Linked DNA regions of Homo sapiens: region 1 is linked to region 2. The links are contacts of gene promoters, found by promoter capture Hi-C in blood cells and fetal thymus (Javierre and others, 2016). All regions are on one chromosome and are shown on one strand. Each heading gives the region's core, a stretch centred on a gene start or on the middle of the fragment in contact. The rest is flanking DNA. Distances are from core to core; before and after follow the strand shown. Region 1 holds the start of NKIRAS1 (NFKB inhibitor interacting Ras like 1). Region 2 overlaps TOP2B (DNA topoisomerase II beta).

What was found. Contacts are between HindIII fragments. The CHiCAGO score rates a contact against its expected background, and 5 or more counts as called.
Region 1: the fragment with the promoter of NKIRAS1 here is called in contact with a fragment that was not itself captured in region 2 in 1 of 17 cell types (neutrophils); the score reaches 5.8 in neutrophils.

The regions. Positions count from the first base shown.
Region 1 is chr3:23,913,640-23,918,351 of GRCh38, reverse strand. NKIRAS1 (NFKB inhibitor interacting Ras like 1) reads left to right here and starts at 1,362. Exons shown (of 5, transcript NM_020345.4): 1 at 1,362-1,568. RPL15 (ribosomal protein L15) reads right to left here and starts at 1,220. Exons shown (of 4, transcript NM_002948.5): 1 at 1,179-1,220; 2 at 321-502. The coding sequence starts at 492. RefSeq lists enhancers at 479-578, 508-1,707, 959-1,758. The HindIII fragment of the contact is 19,179 bases long and covers 1-4,712 here.
Region 2 is chr3:25,621,648-25,626,369 of GRCh38, reverse strand. TOP2B (DNA topoisomerase II beta) reads left to right here. Exons shown (of 36, transcript NM_001330700.2): 19 at 1,567-1,688; 20 at 1,925-2,073; 21 at 2,624-2,855. Among named protein-coding and RNA genes, the nearest start is that of TOP2B, 41 kb to the left of the region's middle. The HindIII fragment of the contact is 4,500 bases long and covers 917-4,722 here.

The sequences.
Region 1 (4,712 bases), core at 113-2,612, 1.7 Mb after region 2:
ATACTTCAACAGTAAGTTAATGCTATCTAATAGAAAAAAATAAAACACATCCCAGTCTTTTTCAATGCACCTTAGGCTACTCACACAGGGAGGCACACTGTTTATTTTGCTTTAGTCTGAACTCATTCAGATTTGTAACCTTTGACACACTTGCCACTTTAGACAACAGTGCATACAGTAACTGACCAGTGTTGCTAGCTTTTTTCTGCCAAAGCCCTATGCGAAGAAAGACACTGAGGCAGCAGTGTCTTCCTAACAGCTGGTTTCCAACTTTTCTCGAATATAATTTTATCCAAGCATCCACGCAGTCGATCACGTACCTTGCTTGGCCTTGTAGCCCAGTCGGCGCGCTTTATCAGGCCGGGTGGGGCGGGGAGCCCTGTGGAGAGCAGAGAGCTGGCGGTACTGCCAGCAGCGGACCCTCAGAAGAAAGCGCATGACATCAGACTGCTTCTTTCTCCATAGCTCCTGGATGTACTTGTATGCACCCATCTTGGCTTACCTGTGAAATCAAACTGTGTATTAAATATCATCCGCTTTAAGTACAATAAGACGACTGTATCCGTCCATCTTAGTTCCCCAACAAAAACAAGGAAACCGCCGGGAATGAAAATGGCTCTGCACCAACTGCCGGGGACAGCTAGCCCAACCCCCACCACTGCGCCCACGGAGCCGCGTTCAGTCACTTCCGCAACCCCAGCACAGAGCGGTGCTCGGCACGTTTTGGTGGGGCGAATTAACAGAACCAGAACTGAGCACCAAGGGGGCGGGTGGCTGCGGCAGGCGGCGTCCCCAAGGAGGACCTGAAAGGAGATGCCGCTGACATCACAGGACAAGGTACTGCTGCGGCCACCGAGGATTAACTCTCGAGGAAAATGCATCTACCCCACCCAACCAGCAGCCTCACTTTAGGCTGCCTTGTCCCGGGCGCCCCATTCGTCAGCCCCACGCCTCCTCCAGGATCCGGGCCCAGCTCGAATTCGCGCCGCCATCACATCTTCGCTCAACCCGCCCCGGGGGCCGCCTCTCCACCCCTTTGCTGTCCCGCATCCTGACCAAACTCTGGCCGCACAGGAGGGAGACCTATCTCCGAGGACGCAGGGTCCCCGGACCTGGATGGCTGAAGAGGAAGACGATCAAAGGCGGATGGAAGAGCAAAGATCCTCAACGCAGCCTACCTGATGGCTGCCGCCAGACGGAAAGGAAAGAGCTGTACTCCCACAATGCCTTTTGGGCTCCTCCCCCACCTCAGCCACCCTCTTTCCGGTGGAAAGCTGCGGCCTCCCAGAGCGTCATGGGACATGTAGTTCCGGCATCGCGCCTGGTGGCGGAGTTCTGCCGAGTGGGGCGCCGCGGCCGCTATTGTCCCGCCCCCTGCTCCGCAAGATTCGAGCCTGAGCGGCCTGGGCGTCTCGAGAGGTGAGAGAGTTGGCGGCGAGGTCTCGGCGGCTAAGCGAGCGTCGGCGACTGTCTCTCCGCGAGAGGAGGCAAGTTGGGGTCCAGGCTCCAAAGCCGGTGGCCGCGTACCGCGGTGGAGCCGCTGTCTTTGAGGTCTGAGGAGAGAACAGGTTTGTTTCACGCACCGCGGGCTCTCCCCCTGCGGAGTCTCTGCGTCTCCGCGTCTCCGCGCTGCGCTGTCCCTCTCTGGCCACCGCACGACGGGCGCAGAAATCTGGGCCCCAGAGCTGCGCTGAGAGATCCCCCGACGCTTCCCCAGCCTCCCAGGGAGGCCTTCGCGGAGTCGGGGCGTCGCGGGTCGGGGCGCTCGCTGTGTCCCTTCAGCTCCAGACTGCGTGAAGCTCCTCCAGCAGGCCCCAGCGCCCAGGGATTTTGTCCTAAAAAAGGGTCATGGAGTGGGTGGATTGCGGGCGGCCCGGCGCTTTTTCTGCATACGGATTTCGTCCCAAATTTGCTAACATGAGAACCACAGTTTTTCAGAAGAGCAGAATGTTTATTTGCCAAGACCTGTTTGGCAGGTGTGAATGTTTTAGAGAAGAAATGCCGAGAAAATGCTGGCATTTTGCGTTGCGGGTTTTTTTTTAAATTGAGAAATAGGTTACTGGCTTACTTTGTTTCTCCAGAATATTTTCACTTGGCTTTAATTTAAGTCATGTGGCTTTAATTTCCTTCCAGATTATGCGTTCAGATGTGGCAAAGGCTTAAGAGAATCATTATCTCTTAATCGTAGCGGTTTTGATTATCTTTTTTCCCACATCATATTTTTCTTTCTTTCTTTTTAAATCACAGCTTTACGTTTTTAAGAGTCTCTATCTGGTTCATTGATTGATTCAACAAATATTTATTAAGTGTCTAATATGTGCCAGGCATAGTTGCTGGGGATGCAGCAGGAAACAACGCAGAATTTTTGGCCTTCTTGGAAATGGGCAGTAAGCAGAAGTAAGCTGTGTTTTGGGTTTGGTGGTAAATGCTAAGGAAAAAAGATAAGGGGAGGGAAGTGATGAGGGAGTGTTAGCGGCTGAGGGTTGCAATTTGGAATGGAGTGTCCAGGTTAAGTCTTTGAGAGAAGGTAACATTTAAGAAAGGACTTCAAGGATAGGAGTCTGGGAGTAAGAGTAGGGGTCTGATTCAGGCAGAGGGAGAAGAGCCATGACTGGAGCATGCAAGATTAATAGAGGAACAGCAGGGAAGCAGTGTGGCTGAAATTCACAGTAGGGGAAAGTGGGAAATGACGTCGGAGAGGTGAAGGTTCTCACATGGACTTTGGATTTCATTGGCAGATTTTGAACAGAAGGATGACTTCATATGGCGTACATTTTAAAAAGATAACTCGGATTGCTCCTTTTGAGGCTAAAAGGAGAGAAAAAATGGAAGCAGAGAGACTGCTTAGGAAATTGTGTTAGTCTTCCATTGCTCCTGTAACAAATTTCAGCAACTTTGTTGGTTAATAATACAAATTTACCGTCTTTTAGTTTGTACATCAGACTAGGTCTGTAAATCTGTAAATATCACCAAGCTAAAACCAAAGTCAGTAGGGCTGTGTTCCTTCTGGAGGTACTAGGGGAGAGTACATTTATTTCCTTGGCTTTTCCACCTTATGAAGCCTGCCTGAATTCCTTGGCTCCTGACTGCTTCCTTCATCTTCACAGCCAGCAAAGGAGCATCTTCCAATTACACCTTCTGTCCTCTCCAGCACTCCTGTGTGTCTCTTATAAAGACACTTGTGATTACACTGGGCCCACCTAGATAATTCAGGATAATATCTTCGTATGGAAGTTCTTAATTTAATCACCCCCGCAAAATTCTTGTATGAGTATGTAAAGTAAACATATTCACAGGTTTGGGGGATTACGATATCTTTGAGAGACCAGGTGAGAGAACATGGTGCCTCACCCAGACCACTTCAGTAGTGATGAAAATGGTAAGTAGTGCAGCCCTGTATGTATTTCAAAGGTGAGGATGACTAAAAAGTTGAATGTGCTACTGTAGGTACGCTGCCTATGGGCGTAGTCCTGCTCCTAAAGGAGCAGTAAAAATAAAATTTAAAAAGTTGGATGAATCATTTGGAAAAACAATTCTAGTAGTGTGAATAATCACTGCTAATTTATCAATCACATTTGCAGTTTTGTTTCTCAATTTGTAGTTTCTCAGTTAACAGTTTTACAAGATTTGGATTTGTGTTTCCAGTTGATTTTGAGATTCCTGAGGACAAGGGATGATTTCTGTTTTTGCCCCCTAGTTTGTCCCTGATGGCTGGCATGATGGCAGGCCCTCAGTAAATGTTTGGTAAATGAATAAAAGAATGGTAAGCTAGAATCTGCTTTATTACATTTTATTTTGTGCAATACTGTGTGCAAAACCTGTTGAATATATTTTTATGTATGTAAATATATTCATATATGGATAAGTGAAAGTATTCCACACTATACATAATGTTGACATAAGTAAATACACAGTGTAGGTGGTTTCCCCACATGACAGTATTTTTAGAGATTTATAACATCTCTCCTATGATGTTAACAGTGTTTTGGTATTGTTTTTCTGGTTGCGTCAGAAAGTTGTGTTTTACTTATAAAAATAGAATGGCCCACTTACATAGAAGAACAGAAGCAATAACGGTTTTGGGGAGCTGTTTCTGATGGCTCTTCAAAGAAAATGTTGACAAAGCATTTCACAGGAATGGACCAGGTCATATATTTACTCTCTGTTTTTTTTTTTTTTTAGCCTCAAGTTGGAGAGAGGAGGTTGTATTTATTCTCTAGCAATGTTATTGATTAGCCTGGAAAGTAAAGCAATAAGTATTTAAGACTGCCCTGAATCTTGCCTATTAAGCACGTTCTCTTAGTAATTTACATCAGGTGAGGTTTAATAGGTCACAGATTGAATTTTATTGCCCAGTTTCTTAGGGTAGGGATGTGACAAGTAGCTGTAACTACTGCTTTTTGTGTTCACCTCAGTGTTGATGTATTCTCTGGATAAGCAACTTCTAATATCATGGCATCACAGTGTTGAAAGGAACCTAAAGGTGACCCATGTACTACAGAGCCTTTCAAATTCTTGAAACCTAGATTTAAGTAAGAGGCTTGGTTACCCCAGGATCGGTTCATGTGATTCAGTGCCCATTCAGGGTACTGCAGATGACCACCTTTGTATATTTCGCAGGAACTGGTGTACATTTATTGTGTTTGGGAATTATTAAATAATTATAAGTGCTTTAAGAACCAAACTTTTAGTAGTTTTTATTTGTAAATCTG
Region 2 (4,722 bases), core at 1,917-4,416:
AATATTCCTTAATTTGAAACTTTTAAACCTTTTCCGAGTTTTTCAGGAAAATTAACTTTAAAAGTCTTAAAGCTTTTGCCCAAGTTGTCTGCAGATTTTCTAAAAAAGTAAAATGGAACTTTGATAATTTCTAAAATATTTATCAGAGATTAAATTTTAAAAAGCTTTTATTCTGTATTACCCAAAGCCTAATGCTTTAACTTAACTTGAAAAAAATTTAGGAACTATTTCTAATTTGAAAAAAATTTAGAAACTATTTCTCGTTAGTTGAAGCAGATTTTGATCTTCTATCTAGAACTTTTTTTTTTCTCATAACCTTTATGAAGTTTGTTGATCTTTGTATTGCTTGGCTTTTCTGGTAATAGCAGATGTTTCTACCTATCCCTCAAGTTCTAGCCACAAATCGCCTTTCTTCTATGAAGCCTTCCTAGCAATTCTACTCTAAATTGGTCTTAGATACCTAAACTTCTATACCAATTATTATGTACCTCTTATTTTACCTTTGTTCATTTTGCCTCTAGAATTAGATTACAAAATTCTTAAAGAAGTTGCCATATTTTATCATCCTCATGTTTTTACCATACTCTGGGTCCAGTATGATTACAGTGATAGCATATACTGAAAAGATTGTTACTGTGCTTATTGGCCTAGAGCCAGGGTGTCTAACCTTTTGGCTTCCCTGGGCCACATTGGAAGAGGAAGAATTGTCTTGGGCCACATGTAAAAATACACTAACACTAACGATAGCTGATGAGCTTAAAACAAAAACAAACAAAAAACAAAAATAATTGCAAAAAAACCAAAAAACAAAAATAATCGCAAAAACAAACAAACAAAAAACCTCATGATGTTTTAAGAAAACTGACAAATTTGTGTTGGGCCACATGCAGCCCACGGGCCACGGGTTGGACAAGCTTGGCCTAGAGCAAGAAGAATGGTAAGGGAGCAGAGTGATTTGCTCACATTGTTTCATGCAATCCTTATGAAAACTATATTAAGAAAGTAATTATTTCTATTACTTGGATGAGGACATAGACTTACTAGTTATTTGCTTAGTCACATGGTAAATGGCCAAGTTGAGAAGAATATACAGATTAGTGAGATTCTAAAGCCTTTATTCTTCACTACCACAATAAATCGCTTTTTATAAGGGTTTTCCTGATGTGGGATACTTAGAATAGATTTCAGGCTCCTTGATGGCATGCTGGCAATTTAGTTAGCTACAAATGGCGTTTTGGTTGTTTGAGTGTTTGGAAACTACTGTTAAAGGAGTTTGGTACCACTAGGTGATTCTTTAAGGCCAGAATGTTGTCTTTCAATTGGCAGTTCACTTTTGGAGTAGATGGAGATGGCATAAAAACATCTTAGTATATACCTGCAGATGGCTTTCTAGGAAAAAACAAACAAACAAAACAAACGTGTTAGTATGTACTCACTTTGTTACAGAATCTCAAGTAACAATTTTACTGGTGTTCTTGAAAAGCAAATTGTATCTTTGCTTTATTCCCCTGAATTGTTACAACTATATCTTGAAGTAACATTTTAAAAGAGCTCTTTTAAAAATAGGCTTTAAACCTGGCCAGCGGAAAGTTTTATTTACCTGTTTCAAGAGGAATGATAAACGTGAAGTAAAAGTTGCCCAGTTGGCTGGCTCTGTTGCTGAGATGTCGGCTTATCATCATGGAGAAGTAAGCATTAAGATTGGAATCAATTGAGAACTGTAATTATTGTCTTGAAGAATGATAATTACACATAGTATTTTTCCTTTAGTAAAGTCTTTGGAAATGTAAAAGAATTAAGAGAATATACAGATTAGTGAGATTCTAAAGCCTTTATTCTTCACTTGGATTTTAATTCAAGTTGGGGAGTAATTATAGAAAATTTAGAATATTAATGTTATGTTCTGCCTTCTTCTGTTGTATAGCAAGCATTGATGATGACTATTGTGAATTTGGCTCAGAACTTTGTGGGAAGTAACAACATTAACTTGCTTCAGCCTATTGGTCAGTTTGGAACTCGGCTTCATGGTGGCAAAGATGCTGCAAGCCCTCGTTATATTTTCACAATGTTAAGGTAAATATTTGCTGATATAATGGTATAAAGTTTGATTTGATTTGGAACCAACTAACTAAATGTTCGATGGAATTATAGCTGTGGAGAGATGTGATTATCTGGTTATTCTACTTAGAAGGTGAATGTTCCAAATTATTTGACCACAAATAGAATGAAGTCTGTTGACCTTAATTTTTATGAATTGTTGGTGAAATCAGTCCTAGTGAATTAAGGATGTTTTTCTCACCAACTTTACTCTTTAGGCTGAAGATGGGTTATGTACTTTATTTAGAGTAATAGGAAATTCTTTAAAAGTTATCAATATTAAATCAGGTAGGTAAGTACATAAGTAAAATAGGACTATTTTATTCTGGGCTTGTAACTGAGAGAAAGATGCATTTGAATAATACAGTTAGGCAAATTTTATTATTAAGCGGATGTAATCAAAATTATTAAAAATGCATTCTCTTCAAAAGATTTGTTTTTGCAGTGTGAAGTTTTTAATTATGTATAAAGTTTTCTTTCCCAAAGCCATGACATTTTTTCATTTGCTTCTTTTTGTTTTCATTAGCACTTTAGCAAGGCTACTTTTTCCTGCTGTGGATGACAACCTCCTTAAGTTCCTTTATGATGATAATCAACGTGTAGAGCCTGAGTGGTATATTCCTATAATTCCCATGGTTTTAATAAATGGTGCTGAGGGCATTGGTACTGGATGGGCTTGTAAACTACCCAACTATGATGCTAGGGAAATTGTGAACAATGTCAGACGAATGCTAGATGGCCTGGATCCTCATCCCATGGTAATTATTTGGAACTTATTATTTATTTAACAAATGATAATGTGTAAACTACAAATTCCCGTCATTTTAGAAAAGTAATGGAACATTTTTATTTTAGAACATATTGTAGACCGTAAAGACCTAATTAGGGTATAATTTGATATGTGCCTACAGTAAAAAGTATAAACTTTGGAATGAGTTTTGGAGGTAAGTTTCATGGGGAGAAACTGTTTATTTAAATTTAGAAACACCTCATATTCCAGGTTTTCAAACCTCTAAACCCTATATTATTAGAAAACAATCCTTTTCTGATAAAATTATGTGTAACCTTGTTTCTGTTCTCAAACTACCGCTTAATAGTTTGTAAGGATGCTTAAAAACACATTGTATTCATTAGTGTACCATTTGTAAAAAGACAGAAAACAAACTACCTTGTATATATTTTAATATATCCCCAAGGCTGGGCGTGGTGGCTCACACCTGTAATTCCAGCACTTTGGGAGGCCAAGGCATATGGATCACCTGAGGTCAGGAGTTCGAGACCAGACTGACCAACATGGGGAAACTCCATCTCTACTAAATATACAAAAAAAATTAGGTGTTGCTCAGGCTCACGCCTGTAATCCCAGCACTTTGGAGGCCGAGGTGGGTGGATCACCTGAGGTCAGGAGTTCTAGGCCAGCCTGACCAAACCAGGTAGAACCCTGTCTCTACTAAAAATACAAAAATTAGCCGGGTGTGCTGGAGGGCACCTGTAATCCCAGCTACTTGGGAGGCAGAGGCAGGAGAATCGCTTGAACCCAGGAGGTGGAGGTTGCGGTGAGCCGAGATTGCGCCACTGTACTCCAGCTTGGGGAACAGAATGAGACTCCGTCTCCCAAAAAAAAAAAAAAAAATCCCCATTTTTTTTTTATGTTTGTTGTTTTCTTGTATCATTCACTCTGCTCAGACCTCCTCCAAGAAAAATGTCCTTCCTTCCTCCCCATGATTTAAAATTACCTGGAGAAAAGTGTATTTTTATTACCAAAATGATAATGTTTATTGTAGAAAATATAGGTAAGCAAAGAGTAAAAAAATCCATAAACCCACAATATAGAGACAATATTTTGATGTATTTTTCCAAGTTTTATTTCATTTTTGTATTTTAAAGTGAAAGTTATTCTTTAGCAATAAGACATATATTCTGCTTTTTCTCTTAAATACTTCAAAGTACTTCAAAATATTTCTAACATAAGCATCAAATTTTTAATGATAGTGTTTTACTGAAATGGTTTTGGATTTTTAAATGGATTTTAGATTGTTAAGATAGTGTATTTGATCAATACATGGTTCTTATGTGCCTACTATGTGTATGAAACTGTGCTAAGTGGTGAGATAAAGAGCTATGGTTTTTATCTTTGAAAAGTTAAACAGTTGTCAAGACAAGACATCAAAGCATCAAGGCTTGAAGTTTAACAGTGACAAACGATATTGATAGTTGCTTGGTATGCCAGAAGAAATGTCCTATGCTATATGCTCAATTTCTTTCTTTCTTTTTTTTTTTTTCTGAGACAGAGTCTCACTCTGTCACCCAGGCTGGAGTACAGTGGTGTGATCTTGGGTCACTGCAACCTCTGTCTCCCAGGTTCAAGTGATTCTGCTGTCTCAGCCTCCTGAGTAGATGGGGCCACAGGTGTGCGCCACCATGCCTGTCTAATTTTTGTATTTTTAGTAGAGACGGGGTTTCACTGTGTTGGCCAGGCTGGTCTCGAACTCCTGGCCTCAAGTGATCCGCCTGCTTTGGCCTCCCAAAGTGCTGGGATTACAGGCATGAGCCACTGTGCCCGGCCTATATACTCGATTTCTTAATGATAATAACGAATAAGAATTTTAGAGTAGGCCAGGTGCA